4 separate regions of the Homo sapiens genome follow, and all the other regions are linked to region 4. Evidence: promoter capture Hi-C in 16 types of primary human blood cells and fetal thymus (Javierre and others, 2016). All regions are on one chromosome and are shown on one strand. The core of a region is centred on a gene start or on the middle of the fragment in contact, and the rest is flanking DNA. Distances in the headings are between cores, read along the strand shown.

Region 1 (3,221 bases), core at 502-3,001, 640 kb after region 4:
GGGCCGTGACGTCATGGGCCCCAGCCAATCACCGGAGCCTGAGACCGCGCCGCGGCTTGCGAGCCCGGTGACGTCACAGCGCGAGCCTGGAATCCGCAGCTCCGCGGGTTACCTGGAAGCGGTGCGAGCGCCCAATACCTGGTTAGCGTTTCTGTGGAGTTAGAAAGCCCAGGAAGCGTTTGCCCAAATGCGATTTAAATGCAAGGGAGGCCATAGAACTGCAGATAACTTGGACCTTGTCTGGGGCTAGCAGTGGAGGAGCTGAGAAAATCTAAGGAAAAGGGAGCTTTTCTTTTTGCAGAAACCAAAGTTCTGTTCTCCGATTGATTTAAGGGAATGTGTCTTCTTAATGCATTTATCAGACACTAATATGAATGTTCACTTGCAAAGGGCGTGTGTGATTTTTTATTTGCGTTACGTAAAGCTGAATATTTCTTAGAAATGAGCCTCATAAGACTGGCTTCAGTATTATTCAGCTTGAATTCACATTGCATAACCTAAAAAGGTCAAGAGGATAAAGCACATTTTAAAACAAGAGTGTGTGGCCCAACGATTGCACCTGTTGAGTGCTCACTGGCTGCCATATACTGGACAGGCATTACTGGATTGCAGAAAATGCACTAGGGTCCTCGCCCTCAGGACTTGAACACTACAAACACAGACACGTTATAAACATTCAGCCAGCTTTTTTCTGTAAAGTGTGTCTTCTGAACCAGGCACTGTGCACGAATTTACATTCCCACCAACACGTATATATGTTTCCTTTTCTCTGCACCCTCACCAACATCTGCTGTTTTTTGACTTTTTAATCATAGCCATTTTGACTGGTGTGAGATTGTATCTCATTGTGGTTTTAATGTGCATTTCTCTGATAATTAGTGGATGTTGAGCATTTTTTCATATGTTCGTTGGCCACTTGTATGTCTTTTTTGAGAAATATCTGTTCATGTCCTTTGCCCACTTTTTAATGGGTTTTTTTTTTTTCTTGTTGAGTTGTTTGAGTTCCTTGTAGATTCTGGATATTAGTCCTTTGTCAGATGCGTAGTTTGCAAATATTTTCTCTCATTCTGTAGGTTGTCTATTTACTCTGTTGATTGTTTCTTTTACTGTGCAGAAGCTTTTTAGTTTAATTAAGGCCCATTTGTCTATTCTTGTTTTTGTTGCACTTCCTTTGGGGTTTTAGTCATAAATTATTTGCCTAGGCCAATGTTGCAAGGAACTGAATTCTGCCAACAACCCGAATGAGCTTGAAAAGCAGATTTTTTTCTCAAACTTGTTGTCTTTTCCAGACAAGAACTGAGCCTGACTATTACCATGATTGCAGCCTTCGCAGAACCTGAGCGAGAACCCAGTGATGCCATGGCTGTGCTGGGACTTCCGACTTTCAGAACTGTGGGCTATTAAATGGGTGTTGTTTTAAGCTGTTAGGTCTGTTTAAATTCTTCATGCAGCAGTAGAAAACTAATACACAGGACAATGAAGGAGACAGGCACATGAATATAAAAATGCAATATGCTGTTGTAAAGTTACAAAATGGTCCTTAAAAAAAAAAAGTATGGGTGTCTCCAGATAGCACAAGCTTCCTTGCAGTTTTACCTGGCACCACCATTTAAAGCATAATATGTGTTCCAAAAATGAATTCCTTAAATTGGAGATGAAAATATGAAAAATACATTCCTTTTTTCCTTTTTCGGGAAAGAAGGAGTTTTTTTTTTAATCCATGTGTTTTAAAATGTATCAGTCAAATTTGCTCCAAGTGATGTGATCAGAATTATGAAGTTATGTTTATTTAACAAATAGTTTTTGTCAGAAAATGAAAAACTCTTATGAAAAATAAAATTTTGGGTACAAAGCAATTGGTCAATGAAATGGATACCGTTGGGTTTCCTTAGAAATGCACTGAGAGCAACAGCAAAAGCTTCAGAACTCCATGTCTGCATTGATTCCTCCCTCTGCCATTTTAAGTTTTATGTGCATCTGCAACTTCCTTCATTGCTCGGAGCTCAGTTTTCTTTTCTGAAAACAGGGACAACAGTGAGATAAAGTATATAAAGTCCTTATCCCAGAACCTAGCACATAGTAAGAACTCAGTAAATGCCATTATTACTCTTAATCTACTTCTTAGGGATGATGTGTAAGAAGATCAGCTAATGAATTTTTAAAGTGAAATTCAGGAGTGATATGACTGGTAATATTGGTCACAGATGAACCTAAATCTCATTTTTTTTTCCAAGTCTTTAGAGCAGGGTTTCTCAGCAGCAGCACTATTGATATTTGAAGCCAAAAATTCTTTGTTGTTGGAGGCTGTCCTGCACATTGCAGGATTTTTAGCCACATTCCCTGGCCTCCACCCACTGGATGCCTGTAGCATCTCCCTCTACCCTCCCCTCTCTCCACTGTGACAAGCAAAAATTTCTCCAGACATTGCCAAATGTCCCCTGAGTGCAAAATTACCCCTACTTGAGAACCACAGATTTAGAGAGAAAAGTCTTGCAACAGTCGTGTTTTGGTCATTTTTACTAACTAGTGGAAAGGGTATGCACATAAAGCAGCTGAAATTCATCCTGGAAAGTTCATCTGCAGAAGTTGCTTGAAATTTTGTTTCCTTAGAACAACTGGTAAAGCCACCAGTTGCTTAGCTAAGAAGATCATAAACCTTTGCCCTGCCTCCCTCCTGTTTGGGGAGAGTCCTGTGAGGCATCCCAGGTTGTAGGGGTGTATTTAGGCCTCATGCACAGGGCAGTGGTCATTTCAGAACTCTAGCCAGGTGTTTTGTGCAGCCAGTAGGTGAGGAAACACCAGGGCTACCCATACCCCCTTTCTTGTGTTCCCATAGCCTTTGGCCATGGTTTGGAAGTAGAAGGAAAATTAAAACTTCTCCCCAGCCAGGCGTGGTGGCTCACACCTGTAATCCCACCACTTTGGGAGGCCAAGGTGGGTGGATCACCGAGCCCAGGAGTTTGAGACCAGCCTGGGCAACATGGTGAAAACCTGTCTCTACTAAAAATACAAAAATTAGCTGGGCATGGTGGCATGTGCCTGTAGTCCCAGCTACTTGGGAGGCTGAGGTGGGAGAATCCCTTGAGCCCTCGAAGTCGAGGCTGCAGTGAGCCATGATCACACCACTGCCCTCCAGCCTAGGTGACAGAGGGAAACCCTATCTCAAAAAACAAAACAAACAGACAAAAAAACTTATCCCCACCAGTAGGCAGAGTTGTACA
Region 2 (3,451 bases), core at 279-2,778, 740 kb after region 4:
TTACATAATGATCAAGCAAGAAGGACCTTTAAAAGTATTGTCTAATGGAGCACTGACTCTGAAGCCACTTAATAAGTGGCTGTGTGACCTTCAGCAAACCCACGTCTCTATATCTCAGTGTCTTCATCTGGAAAATGGGCATAATAAAGGCAACTGTTTTTTGAAATTGCTGCAAAGACTGAGTTAATCCATGTAAAATGTTTAGAAAAGTGCTTGGCACATTGTAAGTACTAATAAATTTTTAACAGTTCTTACAATTATAAACTAGTAAATCCCATTATTTTAAATGGAGGAAGATACTAAGGCTCAGGATGCTAAAGTGACCCTGCAGTTGGCAGTAATAGGGCTGTTTGCCAGGCTTCAGGTCTCTCTGACTCCTGAACCAGCGTTCTAGAGTATTAATGTGTAGCCCTACATGTATAATACTCCTTGACTAAATTTTAGGTCTTGAAAGACACAAATAACAAACACAGTGCTTCTTTAGAAGTATGTCTCACACAATGTGGGAATCTGTAACATGTTTTTAATTTACTCTCTTCATCCCAAGTTTAATCTTCTAACATCTAAAGAAAGGTACTGGCACTAAATCCCGGAATGTCCAAAAGGCAGGATGAAACCAGACTGTAAACGAAAATACATGTAAACTTTTTTTTTTTTGTATTTTTCATTGAAGGAGGATAGAGTACCTGAATACGCTTAGCATTTAAGGGAAGAGACTTCTTTTCTCTTCTAGAAATACACTCACATAAACCTCAGACGCTATTATCAGGGCTTGATGAATTCTAACTTTCAGTAATTAATACCTATCGATTTAAAATTCAAGAGGCAAAAGAAGCTCACAAAATAATAATACATAGTATTTAGTGAAGTACAATAAATGCAGCAGGAGAGATATAAAGATGTAACCAGAAAATGTTCTACGCTACGCTAAAGCCAGAGTAAGCTTTTAAACAATCTCATCATTTCTCTCTCACAGACGCATGCATGCATGTACCCACATGCACACACACAATCACATCACAGTGTTTAAACCAGCCTATGAGGCCCTGAAATATCTAGCCTCCCGCACACCCCTGCATCTTTGTTGGAGCCTCACTCTCCTCAGCTCTCAGCCAGATGGGTCCTCTTTCCTTTCCTCAAACTCGCACGTCTCCATTCTGCTTTGGGGCCTTGACACTGGCATTCCCTGTGCCTGAAAAGTTCTTCTTTATTTCCTCTAACTACACCTCTGCCTTGGCCTCTCCAGCGAACTATTAACAGCTTGATTTATCCTTCAGACTCTGCTTAAATTTTTCCTCAAAGAAGCTTTCTCTAACAACCCGTACTAGCCTCTCTGCCCTCCCTCCTCCCCAATCAATCACACACAATGAAACATGGTTCTAACCACTTAACCAATAAATATCTTTCTTCCCCCACCAGACTGTAGGCTCAAGAAGGGCATGGGCTTTGTTCAACATTGCTTCCCCTGTGCCTAGCACAGTAGATGGTAAATGAAATTAACAACATCCCCTAAGGATTCAAAAGACCAAGTGATAAACTGATTTCCTAACTTCACTCAAATTTGACACAAGGCATCCCATATCAAGCTGTCAGCATGACAAATACACAAACCATACAGAGGCATGGGTTACGTACTACCTTTGGAGAAAAATTCAGAATGAACAAAAACTTGGATTGGGATTGTATGTATTTTAAAGTTAGTATGTGCAAACCTACAAGAAAAAAAAAGTTACTTTTTAAAACAAGCTTCAGAAAAAGAAAAAGTAACTTGTCACTAACACAACATGCTCACTTCCGAAGAACAAGTAGAAAAGTGGAGGGTGGAGGAAACAAGAATGCATGTGATCCTCCTAGGCTATTACCACTTCTTTCCCAAGTAAATTTATCTCCTAAAAGGAGAGAATATGCCGAACCATCATTCTATGTATATCTGGAAAATACCCAGTGGTGTGATGGGCTTCTATGAACAGTATGCCTACAAGGACGGGGCACGTGGGCTAAGGGAACAAGCAGCATCACGTAGAGACAGCTGTCTCTGGCAATGGCTCCAGTGCCCTCTTCTTCAGGGTTTCCACCCTAGCACCACTCACAGCATTAACTTCTCTTACTTTGGGAAGAAAAAAGTAGACTCTTTTCCAACAGAACAGATAGGAATCAAATAACAAAGATTCCAAAAGATCCTTCTAGAGAGTTCTGCTTTATTGAAGGATACACAAGGACAGTCAGCAACAACAACAGCAAAAGCATTTCACTACCAGGAAATAGTTACTGTATCAAGAGACTAAACTTTCTATATAGAAAGGAGAAGGAAAAGAGGGGGAAAAAACCCCACAAAACAACAAAAAAAGTTGGGGATGGGGAAGAATGGGAAAAAAAGAAGAATGTTGAAGATGAATGAAAAAAAGTGTGTGTAATGGAAAGGAGTGAAGGATCAGGAACTAAATTTTACTCAAGTATATGCATCTGAGAGCTTAGAGAGACCTCAGAAGGAAAACTGCCAGGTCGAGCCTCCTCCCCTTAGGTTAGCAGTGTTGATCAGCCTCTGTCATCCACCAAACCAAAGCCTAGCTTTGAGTTATTCTCATCTAATCTAATTGCAGACATCACTGAAGGTCCTTGACGCAAACAAGAAAAACCTCTTCTCATTTAGTCTCTATTAATGATTACAGAAAAAAAATAAACAGGTGAACTCACTGCTAATTACACTAAGCAAAGGGAAGAGATTCTGGGTACGCCCAATAGGGGCACCTTTGGCTGTGCTGTGTGACCTCCTCGAAGTTACTATGTATGCCAACTGATCCTCCCACACACACCCATTCTTAAAACACCCGGCGCATTACCATACTACAACCTTTTAAAAACTATCCCACAAAAGAAAGAAAACGTCTCTCACCCACTCTAAGGGATACTGGGAACATTTCTGCTTTCAAACACACTGCCTTTAAAATTTTAAAGACCTAATTCATTTTCTGTGATAAAAAGTTTACTTCCAAAAAAGTGGCTAGCACAGTTTCCAGCATATAGTAGGCTTGTATTAAATACTAGTTGCACACATGACAAAAATGATCGTTCTGAATAATTTTCACAGCTGTAGAACAGTTACAACCTTCTCAAGATATGAAGCTTTTACCTCCACAAACTAGAAAAAAAGGGCGGGGACTATTTTAAAGCCAATCTGTAAGGCACGGCAAGAAAGTTGCAAATATTTGCATTCATTTAACGGTAATTTCTGAGTCTGTAAAACAAAAGGAAATGCTCAACGAGAAAATAAAAAACCTTGTGCAGAGCTTTGAAACTGTGGAGTTGGGACTCTTGACACCCTGGTGTGCACGCAGATGACTCTGAAGGTGACAAAGGGAAAGTGTTTGCACTGAGGACTTTGATAAAGGATCTTTCCGCTGTGGAATTCCAGGTTACTGCTGGCATTCTTTTGAAACCTTCCAACCTAGCT
Region 3 (3,444 bases), core at 493-2,992, 760 kb after region 4:
CACTTTGGGAGGCCGAGGCGGGCAGATCACGAGGTCAGGAGATCGAGACCATCCTGGCTAACACGGTGAAACGCCGTCTCTACTAAAAATACAAAAAATTAGCTGGGCGTGGTGGCGGGCGCCTGTAGTCCCAGCTACTCGGGAGGCTGAGGCAGGAGAATGGCGTGAACCCGGGAGGCGGAGCTTGCAGTGAGCCGAGATTGCGCCACTGCACTCCAGCCTGGGCAACAGAGTGAGACTCCGTCTCAAAAAAAAAAAAAAAAAGATTCTGTCTAAAAAAAGAAAAGAAATGCCTAGTATTTAGATTCAGATTAAGAACAAGTAGTATGCTCTCATTGGGTATTCTCCAATAATATAAGCCCTATATGAGGATTGTATACATGACATAAGCTTTATCTCTGCCTTTGAGCAATATATATATAGAGAGAGCTATATATATATATATATTTTTAATTTTTTAATTTTTTATTTTTTTGACAGAGTCTCACTCTGTTGCCCAGGCTGGAGGGCAGCAGCGCAATCTCGATTCACTGCAACCTCTGCCTTCCAGGTTCAAGCGATTCAACTGCCTCAGCCTCCTGAATAGCTGGGATTACAGACGCATGCCATCATGCCTGGCTAACTTTTTTTTGTATTTTTAGTGGAGATGGGCTTTCATTATGTCGGCCAGGCTGATCTCCAACTCCTGACCTCAAGCAATCTTCCCACTTGGGCCTCCCAAAGTGCTGGGATAACAGGCATGAGCCACCACACCTGGCCCTGCCTTTGAGCAATATTTTGTGTCTCCACTTTAGCAGTTTAGCAACAGTTTTTTTAAGGGAAAAAGTTTCTATTATTTTTTAATTATCATTAAAACTATGTCATAAAATGGCTGTTTAGAAGGTATTATATTTAGTTAATGAACTAAATATAATAACAGTCCATGTCTGTGATATTGATTGGCTCAATGTGGGTATCTTATGAATCCAAGTTATTAATGGGATCTGTTATTTTGTAGGTTAAAGCATATTTAAAGAAGGAGTTTGAAAAACATGGTGCGGTGGTGAATGAAAGTCATCATGATGCTTTGGTGGAGGATATTTTTGATAAAGAAGATGAAGACAAAGATGGGTTTATATCTGCCAGAGAATTTACATATAAACACGATGAGTTATAGAGATACATCTACCCTTTTAATATAGCACTCATCTTTCAAGAGAGGGCAGTCATCTTTAAAGAACATTTTATTTTTATACAATGTTCTTTCTTGCTTTGTTTTTTATTTTTATATATTTTTTCTGACTCCTATTTAAAGAACCCCTTAGGTTTCTAAGTACCCATTTCTTTCTGATAAGTTATTGGGAAGAAAAAGCTAATTGGTCTTTGAATAGAAGACTTCTGGACAATTTTTCACTTTCACAGATATGAAGCTTTGTTTTACTTTCTCACTTATAAATTTAAAATGTTGCAACTGGGAATATACCACGACATGAGACCAGGTTATAGCACAAATTAGCACCCTATATTTCTGCTTCCCTCTATTTTCTCCAAGTTAGAGGTCAACATTTGAAAAGCCTTTTGCAATAGCCCAAGGCTTGCTATTTTCATGTTATAATGAAATAGTTTATGTGTAACTGGCTCTGAGTCTCTGCTTGAGGACCAGAGGAAAATGGTTGTTGGACCTGACTTGTTAATGGCTACTGCTTTACTAAGGAGATGTGCAATGCTGAAGTTAGAAACAAGGTTAATAGCCAGGCATGGTGGCTCATGCCTGTAATCCCAGCACTTTGGGAGGCTGAGGCGGGCGGATCACCTGAGGTTGGGAGTTCGAGACCAGCCTGACCAACACGGAGAAACCCTATCTCTACTAAAAATACAAAAGTAGCCGGGCGTGGTGATGCGTGCCTGTAATCCCAGCTACCCAGGAAGGCTGAGGCGGCAGAATCACTTGAACCCGGAGGCGGAGGTTGCGGTAAGCCGAGATCACCTCCAGCCTGGACACTCTGTCTCGAAAAAAAGAAAAGAAACACGGTTAATAACATATAAATATGTATGCATTGAGACATGCTACCTAGGACTTAAGCTGATGAAGCTTGGCTCCTAGTGATTGGTGGCCTATTATGATAAATAGGACAAATCATTTATGTGTGAGTTTCTTTGTAATAAAATGTATCAATATGTTATAGATGAGGTAGAAAGTTATATTTATATTCAATATTTACTTCTTAAGGCTAGCGGAATATCCTTCCTGGTTCTTTAATGGGTAGTCTATAGTATATTATACTACAATAACATTGTATCATAAGATAAAGTAGTAAACCAGTCTACATTTTCCCATTTCTGTCTCATCAAAAACTGAAGTTAGCTGGGTGTGGTGGCTCATGCCTGTAATCCCAGCACTTTGGGGGCCAAGGAGGGTGGATCACTTGAGATCAGGAGTTCAAGACCAGCCTGGCCAACATGGTGAAACCTTGTCTCTACTAAAAATACAAAAATTAGCCAGGCGTGGTGGTGCACACCTGTAGTCCCAGCTACTCGGGAGGCTGAGACAGGAGATTTGCTTGAACCCGGGAGGCGGAGGTTGCAGTGAGCCAAGATTGTGCCACTGCACTCCAGCCTGGGTGACAGAGCAAGACTCCATCTCAAAAAAAAAAAAAGAAGCAGACCTACAGCAGCTACTATTGAATAAATACCTATCCTGGATTTTAAAAAAGAAAAAAATATATATAATTTTATTTTAAATTGGCTTTTATCTTTAATTCTTTTTTTTAAAGTTATCAAATCTTCATTTTCTAAGAGTAGCCCTTTATAGTGTACAAAATGATATTAAGTGCATTATTATCTTCGCTTTTCATGGCTCTGAGTCATAAAACAAGCTGGTGGATCTCACTGTACCTAATTTATAGACGAGGAAATTGTCATTCAAAAAGATTGACTGTTATGCCCAGGGTCAGCACTAACCTGCAGAACCAGTATTCAGTCCCCAAGTTCAGTGTCTTCTACTGCCCTCTACTAATGAAAAGTGAAAATTTCCCTGGGGTCTAATTCTCTCTTCAGTTTGCTGTGCCGTTGTTTATCTTTGAGTCTTCATTCTCTGAAGATGGCTTTCTGCCTGTTTCTGGTACATTAGAATTCTCACTATGATATAGAAATGGCTTCAGTTTCATAGCATAATCTTGCAGTTAGCTCTGAATTGCCTCAAAAACCCTGAACAACGCGAGGTTCCAGATGTGTTTTACTTCTTTCATTCATATTTACCCCCATTTGTTGTTTAAAAAGAATTATGAACAATTATTACATCATATGTAGACCACTTTCACTGATTATATGTTGACATTTTCCTCAGTAAAACATAAAGTTCTTAACAAGACTATACTGTAACACCTTTCTCCAACAAAATCAGCTGTATGTTGAAAACTATTAAGTCATTGCTAATGTTTTAAGCCATAATACAGACAGCCTTAT
Region 4 (3,304 bases), core at 382-2,881:
CCAGATAAAACATGCGAGGGAGAGGAGACCAGGGGAACTCGGCCATGTCAAGTGGGGGGTGGTGGGGAGGGATGTGGGAGAGGCTAGAAATGAAATTGAGATGGTAAGCTGGGGTCAAGCTACAGGGCAGGCTTGGATGTCAGTGAGGACACTGGATTTCATTTGTACTCAAGAAAGAACACGAGGAAGCCCTCTCTAAGAGTTTTTTTCAGTGACCCAGACTTAAAAGAAATGATGTTAACAGTCAGCTTTCCAGGGTGTGTCAATTGATATCCAACATGCAGCCAGGACAGGTGATGGCAGGTCAATTAGCCATAAAGACAGGGCAGATGCGACAAAGCCAAACGCATTTAAAATTTTTTCAAATAAAAATAAATCATAAAAAACACACAAAGACACTTTCCAAACAGGTGCACTTCAGAGACACCTGTTTGGTGTCAGAAACAGTGAGGGTGGGAGGAGGTATAAAGTTGAACACCTACGTGCACATTGTATCTATATGTCAGATCCAATGCTTGGAAGCTGCCCATATGTTAATATTAATCCTCATTATAAATCTGCAAAGAGTAGGTCTTACTTTCCTGTTTTACAGATAACGAAATTGAGACAGTGAGTAAAGTACTGAGGTTCACACTGCAAACTAGTAGCAAATATTTGAATTGTCTCCGTCTGACTTCAAAGTCCTTCCCCTTTCCTCCATTCAAAAAATTACGTGTATGTGTTTTCATACAAGACAAGTACCCATCGCCCTAGCCCAGTATGACACTGCAAGGACAGACAAAACACACAGAGTGCAGCCCTCAGTCACCATGTGCTGAATGAGCTAATGTATGTCCCCCTCCACTACCACGCCCAAGACCCCCCGGCGAGCTCCTTCCCCACCGAGGTCCCCATCTCCACCCTGAGGCCAGATGACAGCTAAGGACCTTCCAAGCTTGTGAACACTGCAAAAACTCTCCTGGGACAAGACAATAGGAAAACTTACAAAAATTAAAGCAACCACTGGAATTCCCACTGTTGACTAAAATGACTAAGGGTTTGACCGTCAAGAACTTTTCTGGGCTTTTGGGGTTCCCTCTGGGAGAAGTTCTTTCCGAGTGGGACCCTGACTTGCGTGGGTAGCGCACGGAGGCCGGCAGCCAGGCTAGGGCGCAGGCCTGCCCGCTGTGCGCCCGCGCTAGGATTGCTTGGCGCGGCCCCCAGGCCCCCTCCCCAGCTGCCGCCGCCCCGGAGCGCGGATGCCCCAGGAGGGCAGCGGACGGGGTCCAAACCGTGCCTTGCGGAAGCGCCCGGTGACGACGGCAGAAACGCCTCGTGGGAAATGTAGTTTCCCCTGTCCCGGGAAAGCGGCGCTCTTCTGGGGCATCTCTGGAGCAGGCAGTAGGTAGGGAACGGGCGCCCTCCCAGAAGCTGCAAAGCCTTCAGGGGAGACCCCGATGATCCCCCCAAATTAGAGCCACTTCCTGGGCTTTGGAGGGGGCGAGCCGTTACCTTTCTGCTGAGGAACTCCCTGACCAAGGAGGCGGCCACCTCCTCCACGAAGAGGCTGTCCATGGCTCTGGCTCTGGCTCTGCCCACGAGGCCCACGCCGGGCCGCAGCACCAGGCAACTGGGTCTGTCCGGCGCAGTATGGCCGCGTTGCCGTGGCGACGGCGGCGTCGGCGCGGCAAGAACTCCTCCCCTTCCCTGGGGCTGGCGGGCTGGGGCGGGAGGGAAGGGGTGGAGCGTCCCGCAAACTCGCGTCTCGGAGTGGGAGGCCGCAGTCAGGGCGCCCTGGTGTCGCCTAGGGCCCCGTCCACGGCTCCGGACTCGGGGCCTCACTCTGACCCTGGCCCTGGTCATCTGAGAGGCCTAGGACAAATTACCGCTCCGCTCCGAGGCTCCATTTTCCTAGACATAAAATGGGAAGAATACCTGCCTCCTTGTTTCTGGAGGACTAAACTCACAGGGAAGTGACCCCCTCAGGTCCACCCTCAGCACCACGGCCCCCTCTGGGGCCACCAACGCTACTGACCTTGGCGGGCCTTGACGGTGGGGGCAAGGAAGCCCAGCATTCTGCTTCTTGGGCACCGAAATTAAAGGAGATGTTCCTCGCCCCCTTGGTGCCTGCTTTCCCGTAATGAGACTGCCATTTATTGATCACCAAGCTCTTAACTCACGGTTGCACTTTTAATCCTTACAACTTCCTGGCTAGGTAGTTACTGTTGGCCCCATTCTTTAAAACGGGACACTGAGATTCAGAAAGGCTAAGATTTTGCTGAGGCCCACACAGCTGGGTACTGGGAAAGTTGGGTTTCTAACCAAGCCCAGTACATTTTCCCCGAACTTAGTCACCTGGGTTCCACCTTCACAATCTTTGCCACTTCCGCATGTTACCTATTGTATTCCTTTGCTTGGGCTGCCATACAAAGTACCACAGACCATGTGGCTTAAACAACACATTTATTGTCTCCCAGTTCTGAGGGCTACAGACCAAGATCGAGGTGTCAGCTGGATGGTTTCTCCTGAGGCCTCTCTCCCTGGCCTCTATTATAGATGGCCACCTTCTCCCAGTGTCTTCACGTGGCTAGCCGTCCGTGTGTGCCTGTGTCCTAATCTCTTCTTATAAAGACATCAGTTGTATTGGAATAGGGTCCACCCTAATGACTGCATTTCCACTTCATCACCTCTTTAAAGACCCTATCCAACACAGTCACATTCTGGAATACCAGGCATTAGGACTTCAACACGGGAATTTTTTTTTCTTTTTTTTTTTTTTTTTTTGAGACAGAGTCCCGCTCAGGTGCCCGGGCTGGAATGCAGTGGCGCAATCTCGGCTCACTGCCAAGTGAACAACCACCTCCCGGATTCAAACCATTCTCCTCCCTCAGCCTCCTGAGTAGCTGGGATTTCAGGCGCCCACCACCGTGCCCAGCTAATATTTGTACTTTTAGTAGAGACGGGGTTTCACCATGTTGCCAGACTGGTCTTGAACTCCTGACCTCAGGCAGTCCGCCCACCTCGGCCTCCCAAAGTGCTGGGATTACAGGCGTGAGCCACCGCACCCGGCCCAACACAGGAGTTTTGAAAGACACAATTCAGCCCTTAACCCCTATACAGTTACTTATGTATTATTTTCTTTAAATCCACATACATGTTTTACAATTTATTTTAAAAGGAAAGTGTTCCCAAGCAGTAATAGCCACAAGATCTTGGGTTTTATGTGCTTATTAAATCTCTAATACACATTAAAACAAACACAAAACCAGAAAGGTATGCATTCACCTAAATCACCTTACAACCACCACTGGCACATGTACCACAC

Evidence for each region. The method cuts DNA at HindIII sites, captures the fragments that hold promoters and counts their contacts. A CHiCAGO score of 5 or more calls a contact.
Region 1: a contact is called between a fragment that was not itself captured here and the fragment with the promoter of MINDY4 in region 4, in 1 of 17 cell types (total CD4 T cells). The highest score is 5.7, in total CD4 T cells.
Region 2: a fragment that was not itself captured here is called in contact with the fragment with the promoter of MINDY4 in region 4 in 4 of 17 cell types (non-activated CD4 T cells, naive CD4 T cells, activated CD4 T cells and 1 more); the score reaches 8.4 in non-activated CD4 T cells.
Region 3: a fragment that was not itself captured here is called in contact with the fragment with the promoter of MINDY4 in region 4 in 1 of 17 cell types (total CD4 T cells); the score reaches 6.4 in total CD4 T cells.

Annotation. Positions count from the first base shown.
Region 1 is chr7:30,131,524-30,134,744 of GRCh38, reverse strand. It overlaps LOC105375216 (a long non-coding RNA gene), which reads left to right and starts at 31. Exons shown (of 3, transcript XR_927146.3): 1 at 31-141; 2 at 1,290-1,428. The HindIII fragment of the contact is 339 bases long and covers 1,582-1,920 here.
Region 2 is chr7:30,029,178-30,032,628 of GRCh38, reverse strand. The region is part of intron 1 of PLEKHA8 (pleckstrin homology domain containing A8); the gene reads right to left. Among named protein-coding and RNA genes, the nearest start is that of PLEKHA8, 2.5 kb to the right of the region's middle. The HindIII fragment of the contact is 441 bases long and covers 1,308-1,748 here.
Region 3 is chr7:30,012,447-30,015,890 of GRCh38, reverse strand. It overlaps FKBP14 (FKBP prolyl isomerase 14), which reads left to right. Exons shown (of 4, transcript NM_017946.4): 4 at 998-3,444. The coding sequence ends at 1,156. The region is part of intron 2 of FKBP14-AS1 (FKBP14 antisense RNA 1); the gene reads right to left. Among named protein-coding and RNA genes, the nearest start is that of FKBP14, 13 kb to the left of the region's middle. The HindIII fragment of the contact is 662 bases long and covers 1,412-2,073 here.
Region 4 is chr7:30,769,744-30,773,047 of GRCh38, reverse strand. MINDY4 (MINDY lysine 48 deubiquitinase 4) reads right to left here and starts at 1,631. Exons shown (of 18, transcript NM_032222.3): 1 at 1,492-1,631. The coding sequence starts at 1,554. All of the region lies in intron 3 of INMT-MINDY4 (INMT-MINDY4 readthrough (NMD candidate)), which reads right to left. RefSeq lists silencers at 1,071-1,220, 1,591-1,640, 1,701-1,750 and an enhancer at 1,221-1,515. The HindIII fragment of the contact is 5,437 bases long and covers 937-3,304 here.